Linked DNA regions of Homo sapiens: regions 2, 3, 4, 5 and 6 are each linked to region 1. The links are contacts of gene promoters, found by promoter capture Hi-C in blood cells and fetal thymus (Javierre and others, 2016). All regions are on one chromosome and are shown on one strand. Each heading gives the region's core, a stretch centred on a gene start or on the middle of the fragment in contact. The rest is flanking DNA. Distances are from core to core; before and after follow the strand shown.

Evidence for each region. The method cuts DNA at HindIII sites, captures the fragments that hold promoters and counts their contacts. A CHiCAGO score of 5 or more calls a contact.
Region 2: a fragment that was not itself captured here is called in contact with the fragment with the promoter of STRBP in region 1 in 1 of 17 cell types (naive B cells); the score reaches 5.1 in naive B cells.
Region 3: a contact is called between a fragment that was not itself captured here and the fragment with the promoter of STRBP in region 1, in 3 of 17 cell types (naive B cells, activated CD4 T cells and total B cells). The highest score is 6.9, in naive B cells.
Region 4: a contact is called between a fragment that was not itself captured here and the fragment with the promoter of STRBP in region 1, in 7 of 17 cell types (naive B cells, total B cells, naive CD4 T cells and 4 more). The highest score is 10.4, in naive B cells.
Region 5: a fragment that was not itself captured here is called in contact with the fragment with the promoter of STRBP in region 1 in 2 of 17 cell types (naive B cells and total B cells); the score reaches 6.5 in naive B cells.
Region 6: a fragment that was not itself captured here is called in contact with the fragment with the promoter of STRBP in region 1 in 2 of 17 cell types (total B cells and naive B cells); the score reaches 6.6 in total B cells.

What each region holds. Positions count from the first base shown.
Region 1 is chr9:123,267,012-123,270,730 of GRCh38, forward strand. STRBP (spermatid perinuclear RNA binding protein) reads right to left here and starts at 1,575. Exons shown (of 19, transcript NM_018387.5): 1 at 1,425-1,575. RefSeq lists silencers at 1,301-1,350, 1,521-2,000 and an enhancer at 1,401-1,901. The HindIII fragment of the contact is 5,570 bases long and covers 1-2,846 here.
Region 2 is chr9:123,036,137-123,039,855 of GRCh38, forward strand. All of the region lies in intron 13 of RABGAP1 (RAB GTPase activating protein 1), which reads left to right. It also overlaps a transcript of GPR21 not described here. Among named protein-coding and RNA genes, the nearest start is that of GPR21, 4.3 kb to the left of the region's middle. The HindIII fragment of the contact is 1,057 bases long and covers 1,077-2,133 here.
Region 3 is chr9:123,060,992-123,064,710 of GRCh38, forward strand. The region is part of intron 13 of RABGAP1 (RAB GTPase activating protein 1); the gene reads left to right. It also overlaps the pseudogene LOC100422501. Among named protein-coding and RNA genes, the nearest start is that of GPR21, 29 kb to the left of the region's middle. The HindIII fragment of the contact is 1,062 bases long and covers 1,302-2,363 here.
Region 4 is chr9:123,078,396-123,082,114 of GRCh38, forward strand. All of the region lies in intron 19 of RABGAP1 (RAB GTPase activating protein 1), which reads left to right. Among named protein-coding and RNA genes, the nearest start is that of MIR600, 31 kb to the right of the region's middle. The HindIII fragment of the contact is 677 bases long and covers 1,656-2,332 here.
Region 5 is chr9:123,095,952-123,099,670 of GRCh38, forward strand. It overlaps RABGAP1 (RAB GTPase activating protein 1), which reads left to right. Exons shown (of 26, transcript NM_012197.4): 22 at 1,790-1,894; 23 at 2,764-2,847; 24 at 3,527-3,598. Among named protein-coding and RNA genes, the nearest start is that of MIR600, 14 kb to the right of the region's middle. The HindIII fragment of the contact is 750 bases long and covers 1,489-2,238 here.
Region 6 is chr9:123,128,494-123,132,212 of GRCh38, forward strand. The region is part of intron 17 of STRBP (spermatid perinuclear RNA binding protein); the gene reads right to left. Among named protein-coding and RNA genes, the nearest start is that of MIR600HG, 15 kb to the left of the region's middle. The HindIII fragment of the contact is 261 bases long and covers 1,872-2,132 here.

The DNA.
Region 1 (3,719 bases), core at 325-2,824:
CTCCACCTTCCTCCTCCCCAACCGCTCCACACTTCCCGCCTCAGAAATCTTTCCTTCCATTTGTCCCCACACTTTACCTGCCACTCCAAGAACACTTCCCTTTCCCCACCCCCTTTTGCCCTCCACCTCACACACTCCACGCCACCCCACACCTGTCCCTCTCCCCCAGCTCCTGCCCCTAACGTCCTCCAACACTTGCCAAGAACCCCTCACCCTCCGTCCTACCTCAAAATTCCCTCTCTTGCTGATCCCACCTTCTTCCATACTTCCTGCATAAACACCCTCCATTTCACGCACTTCTCCCGCTATCCTTTAAATGCCCCACACACCTCCTGCTCTCCATCCCCATCACCCTTCTCCTACTGTCCCCACCTCTCTCTGCAAGCCCTCAAACTAAGTCTCTGCCCCAATGAACTTCCCCCTTCCACCCCATACTCCTCTTCCCTGAGCACCAGATACCTGCCTTTTTATCCTTACATGTCAACCCCCTCCCGCCTCCCTGCAGGCTCCCCTATACACCTGGCCACACACTCCCTCACACCCCTCGCAGGTCTCCTGGAGCCCCTGGGCCTACCCTTCATTTCCCTATCACCCCAGAAGCCTAGGCACCCTGCTCCCCTCCCTCCCTTTCAGGCGCTCCCTGCCTGCCCTCACTTCCCCCTGCCCCGACCCCCTCCTCCATCGTTCCCCTTCACGGGCGTCCCGGTGGCCTTCCTAATACCCGCCCCACTCCCTGCCCCTGGCACGCAGCGCTCCTTCCAGTCCTGCTCGAGTCCCCAGTCTTCTCCCTCCATTCCCACCCCACTCGTCCCTGCCCTCCCCAAAAGCCCCCTCATTCCCTCTTGAACCCCACAATATAGTGCCCCCCCCCACCGGACGGAATGTCCTCCATCTCGCACTCGCCTGGCCCAGGGGGCCCCCCAAACCTGCCTGAAGGCTCTCCTCCTCCATTGGGCCGGATCCCTCTGCACCCCTATTTACCCCCAAATCTGCCCACACCTTCCGCCTGCCCCCCGAAGCCTCTCCCCAGCTCCTGCCCCCAATGTCCTCCAACACCTGCCCCGAGCCCCGAGCCCTCCGTCCCGGAAGACCTCCCGGCACCGCGTCCCCCAACCCTGCCCACGCCCTCCCCTGATCGGCCGGGACCCCGTCCCCGCGAAGGTGAGGAAGGCTGCCCGCTGCCCTTGCCCGAAGCGGCCGGGGCACCGCAGCGGCGGCGGCGGCGGCCACAATGCCGGAGCCGCGGGGCCGGGATTGCTCCCTGCTCTCCGCCTCGGCCGCCACCGCCGCCGCCGCTGCTAAGGACGCACAACAAACAATGCGGGGCCCGGGCCGGCTCCGCCAACCGCCTCAACCGCCGCCTTAACCGCCGCCCGCCCGGGACGGCCCGCCGCGCAGGCGCCCGCCCCGCCGCCGGAGCCTACCCGCGCCGCCGCGCTCTGCCCGCGCCCGGTACCCGCTCCCGCTCCGCCGCCGCCGCCACCTCGCCCGCTCGCGTCTCCGGCTCCTCTGCCCAGCGGCGGCGGCTGCGGCGGCTGCTGCCCTGGTGGCGCTCGCGGCTCCGGTCTCCGCTTCGGCGGCGGCAGCGGCGGCAGCGAGCACGTGACACCGTCGAGCGCGCCCATTGGCCAGGCCAGGGGGCGGGCCCCGCGGCTGCTGGGGAACGGAAAGCCCGCCCCCTCGTTCGCCGCGCGCCCCCTCCACGCGCGTCCTGCCGCACCTGAGAGCGCCGGCCAGCGCCCGCCGCCGCCTTGCTGTGCCGCCGCCTGCGCCAAGTGCGCACCTGGGAGCGCGCAGGGAGCACTCGCCGCCGGCGGCCTTATGCACCTGCCAGCGGACGCTTACGTAAACTGCGTCCCCGCCTTCCTCCCGGCCCCAGGCCCCCGCTCGCTGCAGCACCTGAGCCCCGCTGCGCTAGCGGCGTAACTGCGGCGGAGCGGAGACGAGCTGCGCTGGGAGGCTAGCGAAATGCACGGAAACTTCGTAACTTCCGAACCTGGGAGCTGCGCCGAGCCGCGGCGGCTAGCCGCCTTCCCCGGGCCCCGCACCCCAGTGCGGGATGCCCCCCAACCCCAGCAGCCACACAAATGGAGTAGGCGTCGCACTGCCTCCCGAGGTAGAGGGGCAGGCCAGTAGGCTTTGACTTGTGCCACCGCCCACCTACTTGCTGGCTGTGTGACCTTGGCCAAGTTACCAAGAACCGTTCTGAGCCTCAGTTTCCTCATCAGGAAAACTGGGACAATAATTCCAATTTAGGAGCTGTTGGGGAGATGGCATAAGACAATAGGTGTGAATCCTGGCACACAGCAGTCGCTGAACAGAAGCTGCTACAATCACCTCTCCTTCACCTGCCTATAATGAACCTCGCTGGGATTGAGTTTGGGCCCAGGACCTCTCTGACCTCCTTATGGTTGGGTCAGACTTTGGCTGAACACCTACCAGCTCTGTGCCAGGGGCGGCGCTGGGGAAGAATTAAAGGTTCGCTTTCTATTCTACAGTCCCTGGCCTCAAGTTCTTGGTGCCCAGCATTCTGCTTGCCAGTATACAGTCCCTGCTGTATACCGGGGGGTTTGCAGGCTGCAGGGATGCACTGGCAAATGAGACAATGTCTTTGCCCTAAGACAATTCCCAGCCTGGAGCAGAAACGACCTGACCACTCAGTGCCAAGACAGAGGACCTTGAACAGCCCAGGGGTTGAGGAGGGACTCCCCACAACAGCCCCCTTGGGGCCCCTTTTCATCTTTCTAACACACCAGGCTCAAATATTTTAACAGCTCTGTTTCATTCACAGAATAAAGTGTAAAAAACCCAATTTCAACTGAAAAGGCCTTGGTGATCTGGCCTTAAGCTTCAAGGTGCACGCCCTTCCCTTTGCCCCTCCTTCAGGCCAATGTGACCCTCCAGCCACACAGAACTACAGTACTGTTGTTTCCAGAGTATGCCCAGGTGTGTAGGAGCCTGAGTCTCCTGAGACAGATGCCAGGCCGCAAATCCCTTTCTAAACCCTCTCCCCACCTCTGACCACTCACACCTTCCTTGACCCTCCTGAAAAAAATCCTGGGTATCCTTATCAATCAGCTCAGAGTATATTCTCTGGAGATCCTTGGCTGCCTCAGACACATGGTCTAAGCTCCCTCGGCTTGAACATAGTCCTGTTAAGCTATATGTATTCTCATGGCACTAGATTGTAATTGTTTAGCTGTCTGTCTCCTCCCTGGTCTCTCAGTCCCTTGAGGACAGGGTCATCTTCCTGCCTAAGTGTGTTAGGGAAGACTACACGTGCACATGACATGAGATCATTAAAGCTGGGTTTTGTAGGATGCCCATAAGTATCAGAGGGAGAAGAGGCGCCACACTGTAAAGATCCAGATTCACTGCACACTAGCTGTGTGATCTTGGAAAATCAATCTCTCTAGTCTAAGTTTACTCATCTGCCAAGTGAGACTAATAGTATTGCATATTGTAGGGTTGTTAGAAGGATTCATTGCAACCGTATATCTAAGGCACTCAGCACGGTGTCCAGCACTTGGTTACATTTTTAATTTTTTTAAAATAGAAGAACAGCATGGCATTAAGGATTCAATAGTATTTCTTGTTTCAATATCTTTATTGGGTTTGTAACTCCAAACACTGAGACAAAAGCATGCAAATTATATAAAAGGAAAGAAAGTAAAAAGTTAGGCCAGACGCAGTGGCTCACGCTGGTAATCCTAGCACTT
Region 2 (3,719 bases), core at 355-2,854, 230 kb before region 1:
ACTGTCATTTAGAAAGCCAAATGTTCTGTGTTTTATTCTCTTGAGAGAATTCTCAGTAGGGTGAATAATGTGAACACATAAACATTAATTTTAGAATTTTACAGTGAACCATGAAGCAAAAGTGCAATCAAATTATACAATTTATGAAAAACTGAGCTACTTTTTGTGCCATGCTTCACAGAGATCTAAAGATATGTGTGCGTAGAAGTAATCGTGTAGTACTTTTGCCCATGCCTTTGTGTTATGTCTATATTTAGAATATCTGAATTGTTAGATTTCTCTTTTACAGCAAAATGTGCTTAAGCTAAAAAGTAATTCAGTGATAGGCTGTTGGCTGTCCATTTTATAATGGTGACTATATACAAAAATGTGTCTTTAATATTGTCTGTTCTTTCTATTCAAAGACTTCTGAAATATTAGAACATCAGGGAGAAGGGTGTCGGTCATAAGCAACTGAGTCAGAAAGTATACCGTAGTATACAGATTGTTTTTTTAAAATACAAGGTAGTTGAGACATTTTCTTTGTGGTTAAATGGAATCAACTAGTTATTTTTGAAAAGTATTCTTTCAGTTAGTGCTAAGGAATCCACATTTGAAGAGGAGAAGGGAAAACACTTAAGTCTCTTATTGCTATTTTCTCTCTGGAAAAAAAATCCTTTGGCATACAGTTCTTAATGGTCTTTTTTTTTTTTCCTGCCAAAGTACTAGAAAAACCTATAGGATTTTATAATTCTTCTATAGAATTATTATTGAGAGTTATGTGTGTTTGTATGTAGTAGTGATGTTTGTTCTTAAAAGTGATTATCTTTAGAGCAAGAGGTTTATTTTTCTAAAAGGAGAGAAGGAATTCCGGCAGCTCCAGGCACGAGAGTATTTCCTCTACTTTTCTGCTGTTCTGGAAATGTTCTGGAAGTCTTCAAGGGACTTACTTGATCTCTGCCTTTGGCTAGAGGTTGTAATCTGAATGCGACAGTGGTGTTCAGTGAGATGGAAGATGGAAGAAACCCAGGGGACATGGGTTAAAGTGGATTTCTGAATCCAAGAAAGGACATGGATATTTATAAAGCAGGCAGATAAGCTTTGGTTTTCCATCATGATGCCAGTGTTCTTATGATTTTAGGCTTTAGACATCAACTTGATTTTAACCTCAGTTGTGTTCTATTTAAACTTTTTTATTTTAAGTGACTAAGCATTACATAAACATTCAAACTTCAGATTCTGGGTTTTTCCCAAAACCTTGCTTGCTCTTTATGTTTAGTGTTAGCAAATTTTATTCTAAGCTGCTTCAAAATTTAGAACTCATACTGAAATTGCAAGTTATGTTAGAAATGGCTTGGTTAAATTGCCATTTCAAATGGGAAACCTTTTCTGTTAGATTCTGAAAAATGGTTGTATTGTATACATTTTCCCTTTAAGTGGTACAGATCTAAAAAACCAAAATTTACCTTTTTTCATACATGTTAGAGAATGTAACCTGTTCACATTTGCAGTTTGCTTATGAATTTTTAGTTTAGAAAATATGGCAATTTTAAACACTTAATTTTTGTTGAAAAATTGATATTAAATCAGCAGGTTTGATCTTATTTTGTTGTGTGTGTATGTGTTGGGAGAGAGGAGATGCTCCTGGACACAGTAGTGTCCCCTTTAGTGGCTGGGGGTGTTTTCTGTGTGATATATTTGGAAAGTTCATGTTTAACTGAACTTTTCATCCTGGCATATTTAATGCAACATTTGATGACATTTAGTTTAAATACCAGTCTGACTTCAAAAAAAATGTATTTTTAGATTCAGTTACCATGGCGTTGGCGGGATAGCTCATTTAACTTTATATGGCATGTGACTGGTATCAGAGGAAACATATACTTTTGGTGATTATGTTGAAATTATTTCATAGTAAATTTTAAAGTAGGATTATACTGATGTTATATTTGTAAACTAGTTGTATTTTTTAATGCAGTGATTTCAGTGAAAGTGGTTTTTTCCCCCTTCTTAGAGTAGAAAAGCAATTACAAATGGACTAGTGTGCTCAACTTTAGTGAGAGCATTATCCTGACACTAGATTGGATATTTGCGTTTTTTTCACGGGCCTATTGACTCTTACTCAAAATTCCATTTTGGAAAAGGTTTTCTTTAAGCTTTATTGCTGGATAAATTCTTTTCAAGCCTTTTATAATGGCTTTTACTTTTTACTTGAATAATGGTCTCAGTATTTTAAGGATTGGGAAAACTTGAATTTTTTTTTACCGTAAATGCATTGCCCACCTCCTTGAACTTGAAAATGAAGCAGCAGGGTTAGACTCCCAGATGGCCCAGATGGTGGAGTGGTTTCTAGGAGGGTTTCCTCAGCTTTTCAGGTTTGTTTGAAAAATCTGCATGTTGACTTGGTATAGGAATTGTTTTAATTTCACTGAGTATGTTTTTGTTTCATAGTTGTTGGTGAAATTACCAGCAAGCCAAAATGTATTGTTACATGAGCAAATTTTGGGAAATTTAAGAATGGGAAAACTGTGGCATTGAGATTTTTTGAAGTCCTCATAAATCATTTTGTGTGTTGACTTTTGTGTAATTTTTTTCATTTCAGGTTGAAGAAAAAAATATTAAGTATTTATATTAAATTTATATATTATTAATATTATGTTGCAGACCTTGGAAATATTGTAGACATTTCTTATGGCTGTAAACGAGTCATTTGGCCTTTCTTCAAAATTTGCATGACAAAAGGGCATCATATAGTAAAAATGAAGTTGGAACTGAGAATAAAAAAATGTAGGCTTCTGTTTCTAATTAAGTAGTTTTGTAAATGAGGGCAAGTCACTTCTCTAAATGCTTAATTTCTCCTAGAAGGAAATATTGATCCCTTCATACCTCATAGGGTTAGTTTGGGGCTTGCGTTAGATAATAGATGTGAAAGTACTTTGTAAATTGTAAAGTGCTTTGCAAATAAAAATCATTACTGTTATTTGTATCTGCCATTCTTCTACATGTAAGGAAGCCATACATCATGATGTGTTCCCCCACACTTTGATCTTTGAAGCTCAATGCTACACCACTACTCTGTGCTACTTAGCAATCCCAGACTTGAGAAGAGAAGCAAAATAAATGCTCATCCTCCTAAAATGACAGTAGCCTTGAATTCAACATAAAATTGCTTTGATTTACTTCCTTCACTTGTCATCAAACTCTCTGAAGGCAAGGGACAGTGTCTCTTATCTGTCTGGTTAATATCTTTATCCCCACAATCTGACCTAGGACCTGGCTCAGAGCAGAAGTTTTAGTAAGTTTTATAGAATGAATAAATGACTCTGTAATTATTGCATGTAGTCACACCAGCCTTCTCCCTTCTGTAAGGTATTATAGGGCAGTGATGTTTGAAAGGTAGTCCAGAGCCTCATAAGCAACCTTCCATTTGGTCTAGGTTATTCTAGATTTTAAATAATAAATAATATCTCTTTTTGGTATCAAGAGATTAATGTGGTAATGTGAGTCCTCTATATACTTAGATAACTTTGCTTCTGGAAACTCTGTAGCTTCGGCCCAGAGAACTTCAGGCAGTGCTTTCAAATTGCCAGTTTTTCACAGAATGGATTAGGAAATATGTAGTTGGATCACACCTTCTTGGCTCTGGATCCAGATAAAGCTCTGTAAAACTGGTCACAAGGCCAAAGGAACTATAGAAAGCCTTGATGAAAGAAACTTCCTATGTGGTTTTGCTTTTGTCT
Region 3 (3,719 bases), core at 583-3,082, 210 kb before region 1:
TTCTCTCTGGTCATGCTGACCATAACAAATTACTGTGTTGTAGTATACTTATAACAAGGGTTAACAAACTACCACCTCAGGGCCAGGTTCAGTTTGCCTCTCACTTTTGTTTATTCATTTTTGTTGTTGTTGTTATTGTTGTATAAGACAGGCTCTCTCTCTTACTGCCCAGGCTGGAGCACAGTGGCACAGTCTTGGCTCACTGCAACCTCTACCTCCTGGGCTCAAGGGATCCTCTTGCTTCAGCCTCCCGAATAGCTAAGACAGGTGTATGCCAGCACGCCCGGCTAATTTTTGTATTTTTGTAGAGATGAGATTTTGCCATGTTGCCCAGGCTGGTCTCAATCTCCTGGGCTCAAGTGGTTTACTCGCCTCGGCCTCCCAAAGTGCTAGGATTACAGGCATGAGCTACTGCGCCTGGCATGCGCTTGCTTTTATAAATAAAGTTTTGTTAGGACACAGCAGTGCTTGTTTATTTACATATTGTCTATGGCTGCTCTACAAGGGAAGAGTTGAATAACTGCAGCACTGAATGGCTTGCAAAGCCAAAAATTTTTACCTGACCCTTTATAGAAGAAGTTTGCAAGATGGCAATAGTGCATAATCCTATTGCATTTTTGTTTTCTTCTGGAAATTAAGGGTGTTTTTCTTGGGATAAATGAATTAGCCAAAACACAAAACCAGTTGATCAAACAAAACAAAACAAAACAAAACAACCCACCTCTCTTATAACAGCAGTAATTTTCAGAACGTAACAACTGACAATACTTTTGCCATTCATTCCGTGTTCTTTTAAAGTCACCATCTGTGCACTGTTGCCGTAAGTACATTTATAAAAACTTGTCTGTTAAGCCATTATACTAACTACAGCCTCCTTAAGAGGATGTATTTGGTTGACTTGATCAGTTTGGCCACGAATAGTGTTACATGTGTTGCATTGGCAGGCTCTCTACATCAGTTACATTTATGTTTAACTCCTTAGAAATAAAAGGAATATGGCCGGGTGTGGTAGCTTACAGCTGTAATCCCAACACTTTGGGAGGTCAAGGCGTGCGCATCACCTGAGGTCAGTTGAAAACCAGCCTGACCAACGTGGAGAAAACCCGTCTCTACTAAAAATACAAAAATTAGCCAGGCGTGGTGGCACATGCCTGTAATCCCAGCTACTTGGGAGGCTGAGGCAGGAGAATCGCTTGAATCAGGGAGGCGGAGGTTGCGGTGAGCCAAGATTGCTCCATTGTACTCCAGCCTGGGCGACAAGAGCGAAACAAGAAAGAAAAGGAATATATATTGTTGTATAAAGCTTAATTTTGTAAGCACTTGCTTTGACTATTTTGAAAAGCTCTTTGCTTTTTTTCTCTTAGGGGATCATCCATAATGTTGCTGTGTTTTATTTTCAGAACCTTTTCAAATTTAATGTCATTCTGATAGGAACTTACTAAACTCATCATTATTAGAATTTCTGCATCACTTTTGCATGATGTGGCCTCCAGCAAGTCAAATGAATTTATTCCAAGTTCTTCAGCATATTTCCTTAAGGCCAAATATTTTAAGCAAATGATTCACATGGAACTCCTCAATTTATTATCATTCTTGAAGGCATCAAAAATTGAGTGTGAATTTTCAAAATGACCTTCTTTTAAGGGCATTTTGCCCCTTCATTCTCTGATAATTCCATGATTAATGGATATGGGATGGCAAATTGACAAGAACTGGCCCAGTTATAGAGAGTACTTTCAGTTTTTTGTTATTTTTTACGTCCTGTGTACAGTTGAATTTCTAAATCTCGTCTCCTCTCTCTCTCTTTTTTTTAATTGAGACAGGTCTCGCTGTGTCGCCCAGGCTGGAGTGCAGTGCCACGATGTTGGCTCACTATAGCCTCTGCTTCACTGGCTCAAGCGATTCTCATGCCTCAGCCTTCCAAGTAGCTGGGATTACAGGCACCTGCCACCATGCCTGGCTAATTTTTGTATTTGTAGTCAGAGACAGGGTTTCACCATGTTGCCAGGCTGGTCTCAAACTCCTGGCCTCAAGTGACCCACCTGTCTCAGCCTCTGAAAGTGCTGGGATTACAGGCATAAGCTACCATGCCCAGCCCAAATCTCATATCTCTAATAACTGTATCCTTTTTCAGGTTGTCATCTCCGTAATCAGTGTGATATGATTGATGTAACTGGTGTAAAATATTTTGAACGTTTCCATATTCCTCTCCATTCTCAATTTAATTTCCTAACCTTCGTAGTTGTCTTAAACCACAGTTTATCATTCTTAGCATTTTTTAGAGCTTCTGTTGTTGTTTTATAGAATTCCTAAATTCATCTGATTCTCTCTGGATTGTTTCCAGTTTTGGCTGTTAGGAATAAAGCTTCTGTAAACATTTGAGTTTAAGTCTTTTCATGCATTTATATGTTCAGTTCTCTTTGGTAAATACCTAGGAATGGAATCACTGGGTTGTATGGTAATTATGTGTTTACTATTGTAAGAAACCACCAAACTGTTTACAAAGTGTTTGTACCATTTTGCATTGTATAGGAGTTCCAGTTGTTTCTTATCCTTTGCCAACACTTCTTAATTTTAGCATTTTGTAGATATGTAGTGGAATCTCATTGTGGTTTTAATTTGCACTGCCCTGAGGGCTAGTAATGTTGACATCTTTTCAAGTGCTTATTTGCCATGTGTTATATCTTCCTTAATGAAACACCTCAATCATTTACACATTCCCACTTTAAAAAATTAATTGTCTTTCTCATTAATTTGGAGAGTTATATATTCTGGATACAACTCCAACTTTATTATCAGATATGTTTTGTAGGCATTGTGTCCTGGCCTGTGACTTACCTTTTCATATTTTAAACAGTTTTTTGAATAGTAAGATTTTTAAATTTTGATGAAGTGTCCAGCTTGTCGTTTATTTATAATTCATATCTCATAGCGACCCCTCTTCTAACTCTTCAGCTCTCTGTTCAGCATATTCCTCACTAGCACTCTACCCTACAATTCTAGCTACCTTGCCCGCCCCAAAATTTGTGTGCGTGCTCTCTCACTCGCTCTCACTCTCACTCTCGCTCACTTCGCTCGCTCTCTCATTTTCTCACTCTCGCTTGCTCTCCCTCTCTCTCCCACTTTCTCAACTTTTGAAGATACCTCCAACGCGGAGCTCTAATTCAGTCTGGAAGCTGCCACCATGTAATTAGCTGCTGTAGTCATAGATCTCCCTTGGATTTTTTCCTTTTGTTGAAGAGCACCACAGTCCTGAGCTGCCATTAACTGTTAAGACTATGTTAATAACTAGAAGTAACATATGCCACTAAAGCTCTTTGAAAAGCAATTTGGCGACATCCTTGAAGGTATAAATAGTTTACTGTTTAAGAAGGAGCATAGGCTTTAAAGTTAGTTCAGATCCCACAACTATAAAATATTCATGGCCTTCGGAACATGATTACCCAAAAGGCTAGAGAAATTATTGGACAAGAGAAGAACATCACTTGCATTTTTCATCTTAAAACAGAGGTATCATGTTCTTTGGTAGTATACTGATTATGATGTATTCTTACCAAGGGGAATCAACTCTATTGTCTTAGCTATGAAGACACTGCATTGTTAAAGTAGAAGGTCATATTTCTGTGTTCCAGTTCTTTACTGTGTCAGCAAATGAAATTTAACAAGGGGAGAATATTAGAAATAACTGGGTGCTTGGTGTATTTTACAAAGGTTTGTTG
Region 4 (3,719 bases), core at 744-3,243, 190 kb before region 1:
GTGGGGATTAGCGACGATATCGTATGTACAGTGTTTAACATAGTGCCTGGTAGTTAGTAAGGGTCCAAGAAATGATGGCTACGACTATAATTATTTCCTCCCTGATCGTTAAGTAGATAACAAACATTTTACAGTAATATTTTCAAAGAAAATAGGTTTGCACAAAGCATAGATAGAACCAAGTGAGTTCTGAGATTCTTTGAGTCACTCTTCCCACCTCAGCCTGGTTCAGCACACAAGAGGATGCTGCCTCTTTTTTGTTCATGATTTCTTTGCCTCCAAAATCCCCTTTCTCAGTGTCCCCATCTCAATTAGGGGTACCTGGTTGCTCAGGCCAAAAACCTTGCTGTCCTCTTGACTCCTCTCTTTCTCACACTCCACATCTATGCTCGTCGTCAGAATATATCCTGACTCTGATCACCGCCACCTTCATTATTAACATCCTAATCTAACCATCATCATCCTTTCCTGTTTCCACAGTGGCTCCCTCCCTGGCTCTTCTCTATCGCATGTCTCCTTTGCTGAAAACTCACGTTTCCACCATCCAGAGGCATCCTGCATTCAATTTTGCTCCTTTTCTTTCCAAATGTTTTTTATGCATTCTTAAATAATTGAGTTCATACAGTCAGTATCATTTTTCTTCCTGTTTCATGCAATTATACGGATTTTCCTCACTGAGATATTGTGTGTAAATAATCAGTTGTAAATGGTTATATAATTCCTCTGCTTGAATTTGCCTCACTGTGCTACAGTTTATTTAACTGTGCCCCCTTGTTTGTTTCTTTTTTAAATTTGTTTGCTTTTGTTGTTGTTGTTTGTTTTTTTGTTTTTTTGTTTTGTTTTGTTTTTTTTTTTTTTTTTTGAGACAGGGTCTCGCTTTGTCACCCAGGCCGGAGTGCAGTGGCGCAATCTCAGCTCACTGCAACCTCCGCCTCCCGGGTTCAAGTAATTCTCCTGTTTCAACCTCCCAAGTAACTGAGATTACAGGTGCACCACCATGCCCAGCCACTTTTTTGTATTTTTGGTAGAGACAGCGTTTCGCCATGTTGGCCAGGCTGGTCTCAACTTCCTGACCTCAAGTGGTCCACCCCCCTCAGCCTCCCAGAGTGCTGGGATTACAGGTGTGAGCCACCACACCCGGCCCGCCACTCTTGTTTAAATTTTTGTTGTTGTGATGTGAACGGTTTTATACATAAAGATTCATTGGATTTTAGAGTTTTTCCTTAAACTCTGATTCTTTCTCCTACTACGTTTCCCCCTTCTCCTTCCAATTCAGACACGCTGGCCTCCTTGCTGTTCTCAGACCTTTGCACTGGTCAGTCTCTCTGCTTGTAATGTTCTCCTGAATGTCTGCATGGCTTCACTGTCCCCTCATCCAGTCTTCGGCTCATATATCCACAGCTTCTCAAATTGCAGTATCTAAAGTAGCAGCTCCCCCAACCTTTATGCCATTACGTCCTTATCCTATCTTATTTTTCCCTACTGGAATGGAGGCTGTGCAGCAGAAGAGACAATCTCTTTGGCTTACTGCTGAATCCACAGTACCAGGAACAGGATCTCGCTTATAAATATCGATTGAATAAGTGAATGAATAAATACACTGTTGAGTGTCTACCATGTGTTTTACAAAGAAGAGTTAACATGGATTTGGGCAAAGCTTAATAGTTTCCAGCCAGAAGTTTTACCTTTTGGATTCCCATTAGCTTGAAACACTTTAATAATATATGGATCCTTTATTTCCATATATGGAAAGGTGGGGAAAGTCCAGATAGGAGGTATCTAATGTCTTTTTTTTTCTTGCCTATGCCTTCAATGAGTTAAGTCTGACAAGGCTGCCTTCAGTGTGTCTGCACAGCACATATATTTTGTGCTTAGATATATAATTCCTTCTAGACCTGGAGAACTTTGCATGTTTGGGGTACACTTTGGATGTTTCCCCCTATTTGCACATGATTTCAGGTGAGATAGTAGTTTTTCTTGAAATCGGCTCATAGCCTGAAAAGAGTACAGATTCACCAGAACATAAGAGAATGGGATTTTTCTGCCAGAAGGTGAGCTATGGTATGTACAGTTTAGTTAGTGATGATTTGTTGTCTTCTGGCAGCTATACTTAATACCAAAAAATTTTAAGAGAGATACACACAATAGTTGAACCTGTTATGGGCAAAGTGATAATTCAGTGGTAACTTGCCAGTTCAAAATTAGGAAGTCATTGGCAAGTGCATCCTGAGCCCTGCATTCTGTGGCTTGCGTGAGGTATGAGTACACATGAGGATCTGTGGTTTGAGTCCATTAGACCTCGAAAGGGCGGTTCATGATATGTGGTTCCAAAAGCTTGTTTGGAAACAAGCTTTTGAACTTTTTCATGTGGAATTTACAAAGGTAACTTTTGCTCTGCAACTCACTGAAATCTCTTTCCATTATTTTTTAAATGTTTGTAAATTGTGGCTTGGTTTACTCAGTTGTACAGTTGACCTTTGAACAACATGGTATGAACCGCATGGGTCCACTTATACGTGGATTTTTTTCAATAAAAGTTATACCAACTATGCCTCCTGTCTCCCCTTCTACCTCTGCCTCCTCCACTTCTGCCTCTGCTACCTTTGAGACAGAAAGACCAACCCCTCTTCCTCCTCCTCCTCAGCCTACCCATCATGAGGACAACCAGGATGAAGACCTTTATGATGATCCACTTCCACTTAGTGAATAGTAAATATATTTTCTCTTCCTTACGATTTTCTTAATATTTTCTCTAGCTTGTTATATTGTAGGAATTCAGTACATAATACCTATAATGTACAAAATATGTATTAATTGACTTTATGTTTTCATTATGGCTTCTGGTAAATAGTAAGCCATTAGTAAGTAAATTCTGGGGGAGTCAGAAGTTACACGTGGATTTTCAGGTGCGCAGGGCGTCAGTGCCCCTAACTCGTGTTGTTCAAGGGTTAACTGTACTTCCTGATAATCAAGGTGAGAATTGGAAATATTTTGCCTCACATGCCAGTCTAGGAAAAAGATAGCTACTTTTGTTGTCATTGTTGTGATATTTGGTCTTTTGAGAAGGGTCTTGCTCTGTCACCCTGGCTGGAATGTAGTGGCACAGTCATGGCTCACTGCAGCCTCAACCTCCCAGACTCAAACGATCCTCCCATGTCAGCCTCTCAAGTAGCTGCGAGTACAGGCATGCACCACCATTTCCTGGCTAATTTTTTTTTTTTATTTTGTGTAGAGACAAGGTCTCTTTGTGTTGCCCAGGCTGGTCTCGAACTCCTGGACTCAAGTGATCAACCCACCTCTCCCTCCCAAAGTGCTGGGATTACAGGTGTGCGCCACTGCGCCGACCATTGTTGTGTTTTAATATTATGATATTGTTGTAATTTGTAGTATTGATATAGTTCTTAAAAGCATCTTATTTCTTCCTCACAATACCCTGTGAGATACAATAGGGCACATCAAGTGACTTACCCAAGTCATACCAGCTGTATAGTGACAGACCACCCTAGTAGAACTGAGGCCTCTGACTCTTATGTTCCCAATGCTTTCCAACGCATTCCACTGTCTCTTACCATTGCAAAGGTTCAAGAATTAAATTTGGTGTGGCAGTATCTGAAATGGCCACAAGATGGGTGTGTTGCTCAAAAATGTCTATCTTCTTCTCGGTGCCCTTGGAAATTTTTTTTTTTTTCTTTATAAATCTTTGTCTGTCTCAGTCCTTA
Region 5 (3,719 bases), core at 614-3,113, 170 kb before region 1:
ATATACCATTACTTATTTTATGGCTTATCATATAATCTATTTGGGTGAATGTACCACATACACTTGGAAAGTATGTATGTTCTGTTGTGAGTGGAGTGTACTGTGTCAATTAGGCCAAATTGGTTGATAGTGCTCAAGTCTTATGTAGAACAACTTGATTTTCTCTGCTTGTTCTGTCGCTTCCTGAGAGAGCACAGTAGAAGGTTCTGTGACTCTAACTGTGCATTTTTCTTTTTCTCCTTTTAGTTGTGTAGGGATTTGTTTCATGTAATTTGAATTTCTGCATACATTTTGGATTGTTACACCTTCAAAGGGTATTACCAAGGACAAAGAGGGACATTTCATAATGATAAAAGAGTCACTCTTTTACCAAAGTAAACAGATGGAAAAAGATGTACATACCACACAATACCATGAAAACTGGACTGGCTATAGAAATGTCAGATAAAGTAGATTTCAGGACAAAGGGTATTACCGAGGACAAAGGGTATTACCAAGGACAAAGAGGGACATTTCCTAATGATAAAAGAGTCACGCAATTTAATTGCGTGCATTTGCAGTTTGCCAGTAATTAATGGCCTTTTGAATCTGCGTATCATGCCATTCTCAGTTCCACCTTTTTTTCTCTCTCTTTTGAGACTGAGTCTCGCACTGTTGCCCAGGCTGGAGTGCAATGGTGCGATCTTGGCTCACTGCAACCTCAGCCTCCTGGGTTCAAGCTATTTTGCTGCCCTAGCCTCCCAGGTAGCTGGGATTACAGGCGCCTGCCACCACGCCCGGCTAATTTTTTGTATATTTTTAGTAGAAACAGGGTTTCACTATGTTGGCCAGGCTGTTCTCAAATTCCTCACCTTGTGATCTGCCCACCTTGGCCTCCCAAAGTGCTGGGATTACAGGCGTGAGCCACCGCACCTGGCCCAGTTCCCCATTTAAGGACCCAGCTCTCTGGAACCTGTTTCTTCCAAAGAAGATACAGGAAAGGAAATAGAGTATAGTGGAAAACTCAGTGGCCCAGTTACACTACTTTAGGTGATGTCAGAATTTCAGGGAAATCCTATCCATATCAGGAGCCCAGCAGAGACCCTCTGTATTTAGTCCTTGAGTCTTCTCTAATATGGTATAGTCAGTCCTTCTTCAGTTATCTTTGGAGTGCCCAGCACCAGGAACTCGTATGTCAGGCAAAAGTATATCATTTTCACTAGAACTCACAGATACGCCCACTAGACCTTTTGCATGCTTTAGAAAAAGACTGGAGTGGAGAGTGGCCATTAAAGATAAGAAAAAGTGCCAGGAAAGGGGCAGCCTCCTTTATCAGGTAATAACAAGAGAAAAATGCCAGACGGGTTGGATGAAGCAGAGGAAACACAGCTTGGAGGAAGAAAACCAGTTTATTAATAATAATGATGGCTACCTTTTATTGGTGTTTACTGTATTCCAGGCACTGTGCTGAATGCTTTTCTTGCCTTATCCCTCAGATGAAGAGCCGGAAGCTTAGAGAGGTTCTCAATGACTTGTCCAAGTGGCACATGGTCAGTGAACAATGGGCGATGAGTCCAGGCTGTCTGATGCCAAAGGCTAAGCTCCTAACTACTGCCCTGCACTACCTCTGAGCAAGAGACTGGGACAGGCACTTATGCATGAGTGTATTCTCATTGTGACCCTGGGGATATAATTTCCCCTCTCTGAATCAGAGTTTCCCCATCATCTTAAAATGGGATTATGCTAAGTAATGGAAATCCTTTGCAGTTCCCAATTCTTGTTTTGTGACAGCATATCTTAAATGTTTCAGGCTGAGGAAAAGGCAGATGCTCTGAATAAGGAGCTGCTGATGACCAAACAGAAGTTGATTGATGCAGAAGAAGAGAAAAGACGGCTGGAAGAAGAGTCTGCTCAGGTAAGGGAACTCTCCCACATTCCTCTGTCTTGCAAATGCTTGAGAACTGGGAGTTCAGCTGGTGGCTTCCTGTTGGCACTAGAAAACCTAGAGACATCTGGCTTCAGTTTCTTTCCAAAGACTTTTTTTTTCCCCCTACTGTGTAAAGTCCAATGGTTCCTAATTAAAGTCTAGGAGGAGACAGTGGGTTGAAGCCCATCCTTTGTTGGGGCAGGAGAATTTCTGTGTATCAGCATCTGAGCATAACAAAGAAGAGGGGGTAGAATTCCTGCAGAAGGAAAGCACACATCATATAATGCCTGGCTGTTTCCCTACTTGTCCTCTGCTGTCTCCCTCATAGAGCAAGCTTGGGAAGTCTTGTTCTGAGCCAGTGCTCCATAGTCATTGGAGACACAGACCTGCAGGCATGGGAAGAGCTCTGGGTGCTGTGCGCCTGGGAGCAGTCCCCTCCCCTGTCACACCACGGTCGTCCAGGAGGCAGGACTGGCTGGGGTGAGAGACTGCAAAGCCCTTTCTACAGAAACCATGAGATGCTGAAAACCCGCAGTCCTCTTATGAGCTCTTTGGTTTGTGTCTGGTCTGTCAGTGAAGGTCCACAGGTTGGCTTGTACTGGCAGGGAAGACCTTCAGCAGAAGCCTCAATCTGAAATGGGGTCTGACGTTTTTGGAAGTTTTAACTGTTCTCTCCCTCTCCTGCATCAGGAACAGGGGATTAGTGCTGCCAAGATTGAAGGAAGAAAGTAGCTGAATTAGAGGACTTCCAGGGTTTGGTTCAGCAGTTTTTGGGAAGCCTAGCACTAAGCGGTTGGTGGCAGAACTTCCTTTATTTTTCTGTTAACATAGTCCCTTTTGTTTTTTTATGTGTGCAGTTAAAAGAAATGTGCCGTCGGGAACTCGACAAGGCAGAATCTGAGATTAAAAAAAACAGTTCTATCATTGGTGACTATAAGCAGGTAGGTTCCAGTACCCTGGGATTGGGCTGTGTAATCTGGGAGCCCCTAGTCTGGATAAAATGTATACCCGCCCCCCACCCCCAAACCCAAATGCAAGCACCCTGGTTTCAGATCCTGGCTCTGCCCCTGCACTGACAAGTGGCTTCACTTATTCTCAGTTGTAAAAGAAGGAAAATCATCCCTGCCTAGGAAGGTTGTTACGAGGATTTAAAAAGACCATGTTTGTAGAGTGCCTGGCAGTGCCCAGCACATAGTAGGTACTTAAAACCACAGTATGTTTTGGTATGTATTTCAGATTCAGAATTACGAACTTTTGTTTACGTGTAGTTTTAAACCGGTTATTTCCCTGACTGGTTGAGTTTTAAGAACATAACAGAATGGTCTTGTTCCCTCCTACACTAGGATCTCTTGCTGGCTCATGAGTCTGGCAGGTGTTCAGAAACCATTGGCCATTGAGTGTGGTGCTGCTTGGTTTCTGCAAGTCCTAGGCCAGTGAATGCAGAGGCGGCATAGCTAGAAGAACCCCTGCTTATCCATCGACTTCATATCCCCTCCTGAGCGGTAGCAGGCTATTTGCTACTATGTTAATTCCAATTTACATATTCCAGCTTCCACTATGGAATTTATGCAGATGATTACAATTGCTCAAGAGATTGTTGTTTTATATTTGTTTCTTTAGATTTGTTCTCAGTTGAGTGAAAGATTGGAGAAGCAGCAGACAGCCAATAAGGTGGAAATTGAGAAAATTCGGGTAAGACTTCTCTTTACCTAAAAGATTTTATACCACCTACTTCATTTTATGGCTGTATAAACAGGTTTTGGGAGGAGGCAGTTGATTTCAAAAGTGAGAGAATCTAAGCAATAAGGCACCT
Region 6 (3,719 bases), core at 752-3,251, 140 kb before region 1:
TACATCTCTTTCTCACTGCACTCACTGACCCCACACTCTATTAACTATCAGTTCCTTGTCTGGGTTCCCCACTAGAGTAGCATAGACCTGGTCAAACTTATCCGTCGTCGCATCATCTGAACCTAGCAGAATGTATGATATATATAGTAGCCACTCTCTAAATATAATTTGTTGAACAAAAGAATACTTAAAACCACTCAAACTACCAATCTCTCAAAGTTAGCAAACAGAACTTTCCAAGTATCTTCAGAAAGTAGTGAGAGAGCAGGCTGAGGTCTCAATGGCCATTAAAACAGGCACATGAGTCAGGTCGTGAGCCCAAGGGCAAGGTCTATGACTTGCTGATATTTCAATTTCTGGCCCAAGTACAGGGTCTCTCTGTAAATGCTGGTGAATTTGACATCAGCCTCTGGTACCTATGAAAAAGGCTCACATTATTAAGTAAAAGCAAGTACAAAGAAGTTTTTATACCATATTAGTAGGGATTAGAAATATTACCTATATTAACAGAAGCTGCAATCTTTTTACTCTTTTAGTAAAACAGCTTAGATATAGGTAATATGTAGATAAAAATTACTTGGGGCCAGGTGTGGTGGCTCATGCCTGTAATCCCAGCAATTTTGGAGGCTGTGGCAGGAGGACTGCTTGAACCCAGGAGTTAGAGACCAGCCTGGGCAATATAGTGAGACTCCATCTCTACAGAAAAACAAAAAATTAGCTGGGTATGGTGGTGCATGCCTGTAGTCCCAGCTCCTCAGGAGGCTGAGGTGGGAGGATCACTTGAGCCCAGGAGGTCGAGGCTGCAGTGAGCCATGATCACACCACTGCACTCCAGGCTGGGCAACAGAGAGAGATCATGTCTCAATAATAATAATAATAACAACAACTTATTCATTTATAAATGAAAAAAATTTCTAAAGTAGAACAAGGGCACAAAATCACCATGGCACTTTTACACAGTACCCAAAACAAATGGAGCTTTTTCACATTACCACTCCTTTTTTTGTAACCACTTCTGCTATTCAGAATGATTTCACTCCCTCCTTCTCTGGATGACCAACTGCAACTCACCCTTGAGAACAGGATCAATTATCACCTCCCCTACAAAGTCTCCCAGACTTGCTGTTCTCTCTTTTGCCCAACCCATGTTATACTTGCATCATATTGCATTGTGTTTATTCAATTATCTGGTCCTACCCCAGGCAGTCACTGGGGCAGAGGCTAGGTCTTCTCTGAATGCCAAGTTCTAAATCTCCTGTTTGAGACAACGCATTCAAATGTATGCTGAAGAAGTAAACTGCTTTTAGGGACCAACTGAAACAGTTCTGAGGGATGAACAATTTTTACTTTTTAGTCTATAGTTAAGTCATATAACTCAGTCTGAGTGCTCACTAAATCATATTCAAGAGGACACATGTAGCTGAAATAAGCAGTAGGAAGAGGAGACAGATCAGAGGCCAAAAAAGAAATTAATGCTTAAAAAAGGTTAGCTATCAAATTTATTCCAGAAAACAGAAGCTGTTTGGCTAAGGCTGCAGTTCTAAGGATTATACCAAAACCTCCTTAAGAAGAAATGAGACCACAAGTACTAACTAGGTCATTCATCAGGACACTGGAGTCCTGATTCTAACTTCACCTTTTCCTAGCAAGGTATCTGTGAATGGCACCTGTTATTTAACCTCTCTGAGCTTCAGTGTTCTATGTACAGTAACTGAGTTGCCAGGGGAATTTAATTAAATAATACATGTAAATATACTGACAACAGTCCCTGCTGCACAGAATATACTGTGCAAATGGTATATAACCTATTCATAATCTAAAGGGACCTAATCTGAATCTTGTCTCGGCCATAAAATAACTTCATTTTTAAAAGCTTCGGGACACAGGCCTTTCAGGGAGGTCAATGCAATGACACAAGAGAGGAGTCACTATAGAGTAAAGCCTGGCAACGAGTGGCCATAAACGGTTCCTTTCATGATTACTGCCACTGGACCATAGCCATTTACCACTCTAGCAGGTGGTAAATGGTCCGCGGCAACAAGAGACGTGACCAGATTAAGCCCCAATAGAACACATCATCAAAGACAAGAAAGATAGTTCATCTCTATAACCCGCCTATTATTGTGAATGAAAGCTTTGCCCTTTCAATAATACACTGAATAAGGCTAAAATTATTAAATATCAGTAGAAATAGTGAGACACACAGAAGACTGTCTTAATTTTAGACTCATAAACTATGTCACACCATAAGAAATTCATAACCTTTTCCTTTTCCCCCAATGCTCCAGCTAAAAACCCTAGGAGCTGAGATATCCTTGAAACATCACTCTTCTTTCTATATATTCAATACACCAATTTTGCTTCCTTTATATTCCTCCCATCTGTTCTCTTCTGGTCTCCCCCTTTCTTCTTCCCTGCCTCCAGTAGCAATACTATCAATGTCTCTTGCCTGGGTTAGTAGTCTTCAGTAGCCCTTTTTTAACTGAGGCATAATAGATGTACATAGTTCCGGGGTTCGTGTGATAATTTAATATACCCATGTAATTTATAAAGATCAAATCAGTGAACTTAGGATACCCATCATCTTAAATATTTGTCCTTTCTTTATGCTAGAACCATTTGAACTCTTCTAGCCAGTTTGAAATGTACAATACATTACTGTAAACTATATGCCTTCTAACTGATCTTGTCAATGCTCACACCTATCCCTACCTCCTGTTCTTCACACTATAGAAAGACTAACCTTCACAAATAAAGTCTGATCTTGTCACTATTCTCCTAAGAACCCATCAAGACTTAACACTGTGCTTAGGGTTCTAAGACCAAAATCCAAACAACGGCCTCCAGGTCTGGGACTGAGTCATCCAGCTTTAATTCACATCATTCCCCAGTCTCTCCACTTCTGCCACTCAGTGCTCACCACATTCCACACATTCTGGACTTCTGCTTCTTCAATTGAGCCAAATTCCCCAACAGCAACACAAGGTCTCTGCACATGCTGTTCCTTCTGTATGCAACACTCTCCCATCCCAGTCTTCTTTGAGTTAACTCCTATTCATTCTTCAAAGCCCAATTCAAATGTCCCTTCTTCTGGGAAGCCTCCAGGGACCCACTAAACTAGACCAGGTTTCTCTGTTACATGCTCTCACAGCAGCATGTCCTTCTTTTTCATCATACTCATCTCAGTTTCTCGTTGTTATTACTTGATTAATCTACGTCTCACCCTTCAGACTGTAAGCTGCATGAGAACAAAATCCATGTCTGCTGTGTGCCAAAGCAGGCACACTCCTTGAGCAATTTACCTACTAGGATTATCTTCTAGAAGAATCATTCCAAAGCCACATCATAAAATTTCCCAAATGGCCTAGTCTTATTCTTTCTTAGAGGAAAGCACAAAGTGAACCCTTAGGGATGTTACCTAAAAAACAATGACTGGATAAGACCCAATCTTCATGACAATTTTATCTTGATCAGTATCTACAAGTGGTTTACTTGTCCAGTTTAAAGTACTATACTTTCAATATTGTGAAGAACTTGATTTTAACAAGACAGCTGGATAATCTACTGTTAAAATGACATAAGAATTAGAAGGGAAGGCAGAGAGAGGGCATTCTCCCAAATCTTCTTTAAGCTATGTGGTGGAATGGAAAGAATATGAACTTTGGAAATGCAAACACCTACATTCAAATCCTTGCTCTGTGGTTTAGTGGTTGCTTCAC